Regions from separate parts of the Homo sapiens genome. Here all the other regions are linked to region 1. Evidence: promoter capture Hi-C in 16 types of primary human blood cells and fetal thymus (Javierre and others, 2016). All regions are on one chromosome and are shown on one strand. Each heading gives the region's core, a stretch centred on a gene start or on the middle of the fragment in contact. The rest is flanking DNA. Distances are from core to core; before and after follow the strand shown. Region 1 holds the start of DTX1 (deltex E3 ubiquitin ligase 1). Region 2 holds the start of LHX5 (LIM homeobox 5). Region 3 overlaps SLC8B1 (solute carrier family 8 member B1).

Evidence for each region. Contacts are between HindIII fragments. The CHiCAGO score rates a contact against its expected background, and 5 or more counts as called.
Region 2: a fragment that was not itself captured here is called in contact with the fragment with the promoter of DTX1 in region 1 in 1 of 17 cell types (total B cells); the score reaches 5.4 in total B cells.
Region 3: a contact is called between a fragment that was not itself captured here and the fragment with the promoter of DTX1 in region 1, in 5 of 17 cell types (naive CD4 T cells, naive B cells, naive CD8 T cells and 2 more). The highest score is 7.9, in naive CD4 T cells.

The regions. Positions count from the first base shown.
Region 1 is chr12:113,055,452-113,058,063 of GRCh38, reverse strand. It overlaps DTX1 (deltex E3 ubiquitin ligase 1), which reads right to left and starts at 1,334. Exons shown (of 10, transcript NM_004416.3): 1 at 1,120-1,334; 2 at 1-615. RefSeq lists an enhancer at 1-96. The HindIII fragment of the contact is 5,893 bases long and covers 1-1,831 here.
Region 2 is chr12:113,469,811-113,472,422 of GRCh38, reverse strand. It overlaps LHX5 (LIM homeobox 5), which reads left to right and starts at 552. Exons shown (of 5, transcript NM_022363.3): 1 at 552-1,097. The coding sequence starts at 925. It overlaps LHX5-AS1 (LHX5 antisense RNA 1), which reads right to left and starts at 420. Exons shown (of 2, transcript NR_126425.1): 1 at 341-420. RefSeq lists an enhancer at 670-1,470. The HindIII fragment of the contact is 214 bases long and covers 1,210-1,423 here.
Region 3 is chr12:113,331,388-113,333,999 of GRCh38, reverse strand. It overlaps SLC8B1 (solute carrier family 8 member B1), which reads left to right. Exons shown (of 16, transcript NM_001358345.2): 2 at 1,040-1,277. The coding sequence starts at 1,122. Among named protein-coding and RNA genes, the nearest start is that of SLC8B1, 2.4 kb to the left of the region's middle. The HindIII fragment of the contact is 1,455 bases long and covers 523-1,977 here.

The DNA of each region.
Region 1 (2,612 bases), core at 85-2,584:
TGGGTTCTCTCTGAGGCCTAGAGACCTCCGTTAAAGGAATGTGGGATGGCCATCCAGGCTGCAAAGACCCCTTCCCTGTAGAGCCTTCTCCGATAAAGGGTGCTGCCCTGGAAAGCAAGTGTCTCTCTTATGCCGGAGGAAACAGCTCTAAAGTCCTTGGCCCCCTCGGCTGGCTCAGGTAGGGAGTGAGGCAGCCGCCCCTGTTCGAGGTCCAGCCTCTTCCGTGTTGTCTCTTGGTCCCTCTTCCCCGCCAGACAGGGCCTGTCACCCAGGAGGCCTGGGCCACAGCCTGCTGCTCCTGCGGCTCTCAGCCAGCCCTTTGCACTCCCAACTGCGTCCCAGACCCTGCGCCCGGCTTCAGTGGGGCTTCTCGCCTCCCTCCGGTCTGGGCCCCCTTCTCCGACGGCTCCTGCCGAAGGGGGCGTCCCTGCCCCCTTGTTCCCTCTCCACGGTGTCCTGGAAGGCCTGGGTGGCCGCAGAACGCACGGGGGAGGGGTGCGGCGTGGACCCTCGGGCGGCGCGCCTGGACTGCGGCTCCGGAGCTGGGCTGGGGGACGAGGGGGACGAGGGGGGCGGGGGCCCGTGGGCACGCCCCACCCCACTCGTGCTCGCGACCTGCCAGGAGACAAGAGGGGAGAGGGCCCTTTAAGAGGAGAGCGCAGCACCCCCTCCCCCCTTCCCAGGAGAGCATTCGGCTGAGAACAATGGGGAACCGAAGGGGGACAGCAAGGGGGGCGTACGGGGTCGCCCCGCCCGCTTTCCCTTGGGGCAGGCCTGGAGGGAAGGCAGGGGCCGGGGGCGCGGTTTTCCGAGACTCTCCGCCTGGGGGGCGCCCTCCTTGGCTCCCGGAGCCTTCCCTTCCCCCGGGGCCCTCGCCCTGCCGGGGGGATGCCGGGTGCGCTGGGGTGCGCCGGGAAGCACGGGGATGCGCGGCGCTGCAGGCGCGGCCCAGGGCCCCTCGGGGGTCGCGTCGCGGAGGGGGCGAAGCCAGGAGCTGGATCGTCTCTGCCTCCCGCCCTGGGGGTAACAGCCCCGCTTCCCCAGCCCAGACGTCCCCGAGCCGCTCGCGGGCCCCCAGCGGGAGCCGGGGGTGGGGTCCCTAAGCACCCGCGTTCTCACCGCCTCTCTTCGTCTCCGGCTCCGGCTCCGGCTCGCGCTCCAGCACCGCCGCCTCCTGGGCTCCCCCCGGAGTGGGAGGGAGCCGCGGTCCCGCCTCCGCGCCCGTTCCCTCCCAGGCCCCTCGGCCGCCGCGCCGAGCTTTCCGCGCGTGGACAGACTGCCCGGCCGACGGACGGACGCAGGAGCCGGCTGGCGGCCGCCGGGATCTCGCGGGTGGGAGGAGGCCTCGGCCGTGCTCCGGGAGGGAGAGGGGAGGGGGCGGAGGAGGAGGAAGGGGAGGAGACAGATCTCGGCCCTGAGCGCCACCGGCGCTGACACGCGAGTCTCGGGGCGCCCCAAATCCTCGGCCAGGCCCTCCCGAGACCCCAAGGGGCCTTCTGACCCCAAGCAGAGCGTGAGGCAGGGAGTGGGATGTTTAGGAGTCACCGGCTTGAATCTTTGTCATCTTTATTTCCAGTCTCCCAGTCCAGGGCCTGGCACTGAATAGGTGCTCAATAAATGCTTGAATGAATGAATAAGATCCAGAGACTGTCTAAAGAAAGATCTTGAAGCATTCAGAGCTAGCCTCCTTTCCTCCTCTAACTATTCCTGGGGGTGGGAGGGTGCTGACAAGGCCTGATTCAGACTCAGTTGGAACCGTGGAATCTGAAGAGTACAGATGAGGAGACTGAAGCCAGAGAGAGTAAGAGCCAGGCCCAGGATCACAAAAGCTTAGAGCGATGCCCAGACACCAACCCCGATCTGAATCTCCTGCCAGTACCCAGTTCCCAGCCCTGAGCCCACTTCCCCCAAAGCACCCACCTGCTCCAGGTGAGAGGGGTGGGACCAGGGGAGGGGACCCTGGCCAGGAGGTGAGATCCTGGAGGAAGAGAAGGGCAGGCCCTCTGCCATGTCATTCACAGCCACCTGCAAACAACTGGTGCTCAATAAATGGTGGGTGAGCATTGGTTGGATGGAAGGGAAGGCTGGAAATGGCAGCGGCTCAAGTGTTAACGGGATGGCCAGTCCCCCTGTCCTCCAGCAAGCTGGATGCGGCTGAGACACACATTGGCTGGGAGGGGGGTGGACCACCTGGGGCCTGGGGGTGTTTAGATTGGGGAAGATGAAGGATGCGTCCGGGAACTCCAGCCTGGGTGGCTGACGGGGGTCAGTGGCCTGTTTGGGCGCCTGCCCAGAGCAGCCCACGCCTGCCTCCCCGGGGCAGATGGGGATACACTAGGCAGGGTCAGGGGCAGGCTGCTCAGGGGTGCTTTCCCAGAATCCAGCTCTGGCTCTCCGGCCAGCTGGAGGGACCTCCCCTCCCCAGGCCCCTGCTCTGACCTGCAGCCCAGTGTTGGATGGGCTTTTTCAGATTGGGTCAATGATTCTGCTTGCTTTCACCTGCTGTAGACTAAAGAGAGAGGCTTTGCATAGGGCAGGGCCAAGTCTGACGATACTCCCACAGGATCACTGAGTTCTGGGATTTTAGCCTAGGGTCCCTGGATGGCCTTCTG
Region 2 (2,612 bases), core at 67-2,566, 410 kb before region 1:
CCGGCTGGGCCCCAGCCCCGTGTATGACAAAAAGAAGCCGGGGCCGGCTCCAGGAGCCGGGAGAACCGCGCTGACGCAGCTTCAGGGCGCAGAGGGGGCGCGGGGGTGGGGGAATCCAATCTGGGCTGGCTGGGCTGGAGAAGGGGAGCGAAGTGTGGGGCGTGGGGCAACTTCTGCAAGTTCCAGGGATGGCGAAGGGGGCAGGGGTACCTCCCGGACTAGGCCTTGGAACCCGTGACCCCCAAATATTTGTGAGGAGAAAGAGAGAGGAAGAGAGACGCAATTTTCGTTTCGCGCTGCCCCCGCCCCGTCAGCCCCAAACTGGAAGGTAAATACTTACTTAGCCTCCGAACCAGGTACAAGCTAATACTCAACAATACTGATGCCTTGTTTTTTTTGCTCTGTCCGGACAGCAACGCTGTAGCCAATTTAGATATGCTATAAATTTAAGAGGTTGCCATGGCCACGGTGCGCCCATTGGCCGCTGGGCCCCCTACGTGCAGCGCCACGTCACCAAATCTGAATAAGGATGCGCGAATTACGCGGCGACCAGACAAAGATGAGGATCCGGACCGCTTGAAAGTGGGGGAAAGTGCCGGCGCCTCCGCCACCGGGGAAAGCCGCTCCGCAGCGCCGAGGCCAGCAGCCACCCGAGATACCTGGGGAAGCCCGGAACAGGCGCCGGGGCGTGCGGCCCGTGGCATGAGGTTGTGAACGCCACCCGCCCCCCACCACCCCACTCCGGGCAGCCCAGCGCCAGGCCAGAGATTGCCCAAGGACTGGACCGGCTGAGTCTTGGTCCGGACCAGACTCGCCCTGCAGCTGCTGAGACAAGAGGCGAAGGGCAGCGGAGGGCCCGGCAGGCCCGAGGGCCAGGGGCCCAAAGGGAGGGCAAGGCGGCCGAAGCCGCCGGGGCGCGGGGCTATGATGGTGCACTGCGCCGGTTGCGAGCGGCCCATCCTCGACCGCTTTCTGCTGAACGTGCTGGACCGCGCGTGGCACATCAAATGTGTTCAGTGCTGCGAGTGCAAAACCAACCTCTCGGAGAAGTGCTTCTCGCGCGAGGGCAAGCTCTACTGCAAAAATGACTTTTTCAGGTAAGAGGCCGCGCCGCTCTGCTGCCTGCGCGCCCACCCTGCGCGCGCTCCACTGGGGCGCTGGGGAAGGGGATACCCCCATCCCCATCCCAGCCTCCCCGGATCACAAGCTTAGATGGGGAGCGGGCAGCACTTTGCTCTCCTCCTGTCCTTGGTCCAGGAAAGGTCCCGAGCCCAGGCGGAGGAAGAAGGACGCTGCTTCGCTGCCTCACGTTGGCTCGAGGCCGGCTCAGAGCGCTGGCGGGGCAGAGGGAGGAAGCCCTGACAAACTTGCTATCCACTCCTCTCCGCCCCTTCCAAGCAGCTGCAACCCCAAGACAGAAGCTTCAAGCCCCGTCCCGAGAGAGAGGAAGGATTTTTGCATGAGTTAGAGACGCCTGAAGGCTTCTCGCTCCAGGCAGAATGTGTGAGCCCATCGGCCGCAATCCCAAACAGAAACTTCTCAGCTCCAGAGGGGGCCCAGCGAGGAAGGTCTCCCCTGGTGATGGGAGGAGAGAACCTCCCCCACCCACCTCCCAACCCCTTAAACATTTCCTCCCATGTTGAAAAGTAGAAACGAAATCGAGGCTGAGAATCAGGACCTCTGGGGTCTAGACTGGGCTGTGGCACCTCCCCAGCCCCCCTACCCCTGTGGGCCCTGTGGCTGGCCAGGGCAGATCACCTCTCTGGGCCTCAGTTTCCCCAGCCTGGAAGCCACTGGAGTTTGGGGCAGCTGAGCCCTACCTGTTTCCTCTGGGCACCCAGAGCCGGCTTTGTGAACAGGAATTCCCCGCGCTGAGGAATGGGGGCGTGAATCACGCCACAGAGAAAGGCAGCCTGCCGGCCCCAGCGACTCCGCACTGAGAATTTGAATGGGAGAAAATGTCAGCCGCTCCTTTACACGTGTTAACTCCCTGGACCCGGAGGCCCGATGCCCCTAATGTAGCAGTGCTTGCAAAGTGCCTAATGATTTTTGATAAGGTGCATATGGCCAATTACGCTGCCGGATAAGGCCAAAAGTGACTTATGGCTTCTAATGCCCTCACTACATCAATGTCACCCAAATTCGCCCTGTTTAGAGACATGGGTGTGAGTAGATGTGGGGTCCCTAGAGTCCTGGGTCCTCCCCCACCCCACCCCCAACCTGAGCCTCACCCATCTCCTATTTCGGGGGAGGCTGGCTTTCTCCCTGAGCTCAAAGAAGAAAGAAAAGGAATGAGATCAGGAACGCGGGAAAGCGGGGATTTGAGAGATTCCTGTCCTGGCCTTGCAGGATCTATGATTGTCCTCTATTCACATTCCCCTGCTGCCTGCCAGGCCAGAGGTTTAGGGGGGCTGAAACTCATCCCTGCTCTCTAGGGTCCATCACTATGAGGCCCTGCTGTCCACAGCTCCTGATTAGCTCCAGCGGGTCCCAGAGCGGTGGATTGGAAAGCCTCTCCATTGGTACTGGAAATCAGTGGAAGGTTCCCTCCTTTCTGCTTCCTCCTTCCAGCCTAGGAGAAGGGCTCCCCACCTCATGGCTAGGCTCAGCCA
Region 3 (2,612 bases), core at 1-2,500, 280 kb before region 1:
TGGTGGCTCACGCCTGTAGTCCCAGCACTTTGAGAGGTCAAGGCCGGCAGATCACTTGAGGCTAGGAGTTCCAGACCAGCCTGGCCAACATGGCGAAACCCCGTCTCCGTTAAAAATACAAAAATTAGCTGGGCATGGTGGTGTGTGCCTGTAATCCCAGCTACTCGGGAGGCTGAGGCAGGAGAATCACTTGAACCCGGGAGGCAGAGGTTGCAGTGAGCTGAGATCGCGCCACTGCACTCCAGCTTGGGTAACAGAGTGAGACTCCATCTGAAGAAACAAACAAAAAACAAAAAACACTCCTCTGAGCCCCTCTCCCTGCTGTGCAGGGTGGGGTGGGGGGCGGGGGGGTGACATTTCCAGAATTGTTCTGAGGACTGCATGAGGGAGGCGTGATGCAGGGGGGAAACAAGCCTGGCTTCACCTGTCTGTGCCTCAGTTAGTTCATCTGTAAAATGGAATGCTAGTGCTACCCCCGCTCGGCATGTCGTGAGGATAGAATGAGGTCATCCATGTAAAGCTTGGCTCCTTGTAAGACACAGAACAACAGCATTGCTTAGTGGGCTCTGTAAAATGTGGTGGGCAAGCCTCTCTACGTCTCAAACTGGTGGCCCAGAGGCCAAGTCCACCCCTAGAAGTAGAGTTTGTTTTGTTTTGTTTTGAGGGCTTCTGCAATCCCGCCCACTGCCCACTTCCCACATGTATCTCACCCACCTGCCCCAGAAGCCTGAGACTCTGAATCTTGGCTCAAGTCCCAAGTCCCTTGCAGCCCTGGCATTCTGGCCTCAGGCTGGGGGCCAGGTGGGACTGGGTAGGTTTTCATGGGTTCTCAGGAAGAAGGGCGTATCTGATCTGCACGCTGAATGGGCAGGGCCTTGGGCCCCTCCAGCGAGACTGTGCAGAACATGGTTTCTCCGTCAGCTTAACTTTGCTGCCGGGAGGCAGGAAGGCAGTTCCTTAACTAGAGTCTTCCAGCCCCTTTTGCTGTGTCCATGGGTTTTCAGTAATGTTGTCCCCCTTTCTCACTCCCACCTTGCAGGCCACCGGAGCCGCCAGCTGTTTGGAACTGAGCTACTGCAGAAAGGGAAGTGGAGAGTAAGGGCCAGGCCCCGTGGGGGCAGATGGCCGGCAGAAGGCTGAATCTGCGCTGGGCACTGAGTGTGCTTTGTGTGCTGCTAATGGCGGAGACAGTGTCTGGGACTAGGGGCTCGTCTACAGGAGCTCACATTAGCCCCCAGTTTCCAGCTTCAGGTGTGAACCAGACCCCCGTGGTAGACGTGAGTATCCCGGTAGGAACCTGGGGTTGAGTGGGGCTGTGTTCCTCCAATCGATAAATATCTATTGAGCATCTACTATGTGCCAGGCACTGACCGCAGCCTGGGATATACCGGGGAACAATAGAGACAAAATTCACTACTCTCAAGAAGCTGACAGTCTCCTGAACAGACAGATCAAGAAGTAAACTTATACACTTTGGGAGGCCAAGGCAGGAGGATCACTTGAGGCCAGGAGCTGGAGACCAGCCTGGCCATCGTGTCAAAACCCCGTATCTACTAAAAATACAAAAATTAGCTGGGCATGGTGGCAGGTGCCTGTAATCATCAGAACCCTGAGGCAGGAGAATTGCTTGAAACCGTGAGGTGGATGTTGCAGTGAGCCAGGATTGTACCACTGCACTCCAGCCTGGGCGGCGAAGCAAGACTCTGTCTCAACAACAAAAAAAAGAGAAGTAAGCATATACATTTCAGGTGGCGATGTGCTAAGTGCCCCGCACACAATAGCTAAAGTGGTATGGGGGAGGGCGTGAGCTTTTCCAACTATTTCAGATTGGGTGGTCACAGATGGCTTCTGTGAGGGGGTGATATTTGAGGCAAGCCAGCGAATGGAGAGAGGAAACCACCTACATTGACACCCCGGGGAAGAGCATTCTGGGCAAAGGGAACAGCAAGTACAAAGATTCTGGAGCAGGAACAAGCTTAGTGTGTTCCCGTAACAGCAGGGAGGCTAGAATGGATGGAACAGAGCAAGTGAGGGGAAGAATGCTAAGAGAGGAGGATGGAGAGGTAATGGCGGGCAGATTACAAAAGGCCTTACAGGCTGCGGCTAGGAGGTGAGAATTGTTTTGCGATAGTGGGGAGCCAATGGAAGGTTTTAAGCAGAGGGTCCCAAAATCTGTGTTAGTCGGAGTTCTCTAGTGGGACAGAACTAATAGGATAGATGTATATGTAAAGGGGAGTTTTTAAAGGAATATTGACTCACATGATCACAGGTGAGGTCCCGCAATAGGTCATCTGCAAGCTGAAGAGCGAGGAGGTCAGTCTGAGTCCCAAAACCTCAAAAGCAGGGAAGCTGACAGTGCAGCCTTTAGTCTGTGGCTGAAGGTCCAAGAGTCCCAAAGCTGAAGAACTTGGAGTCTGATGTTTGAGGGCAGGAAGCATCCAGCATGGGAGAAAGATGCAGGCCAGAAGACCAAGCCAGTCTAGTCTTTCCACATTCTTCTGCCTGCTTTTATTCTGGCTGTGCTGGTAGCTGATTAGATTGCACCCACCCAGATTGAGGGTGGGTCTGCTTTTCCCAGTCCACTGACTCAATTTTTTTTTTTTTTTTTTTTT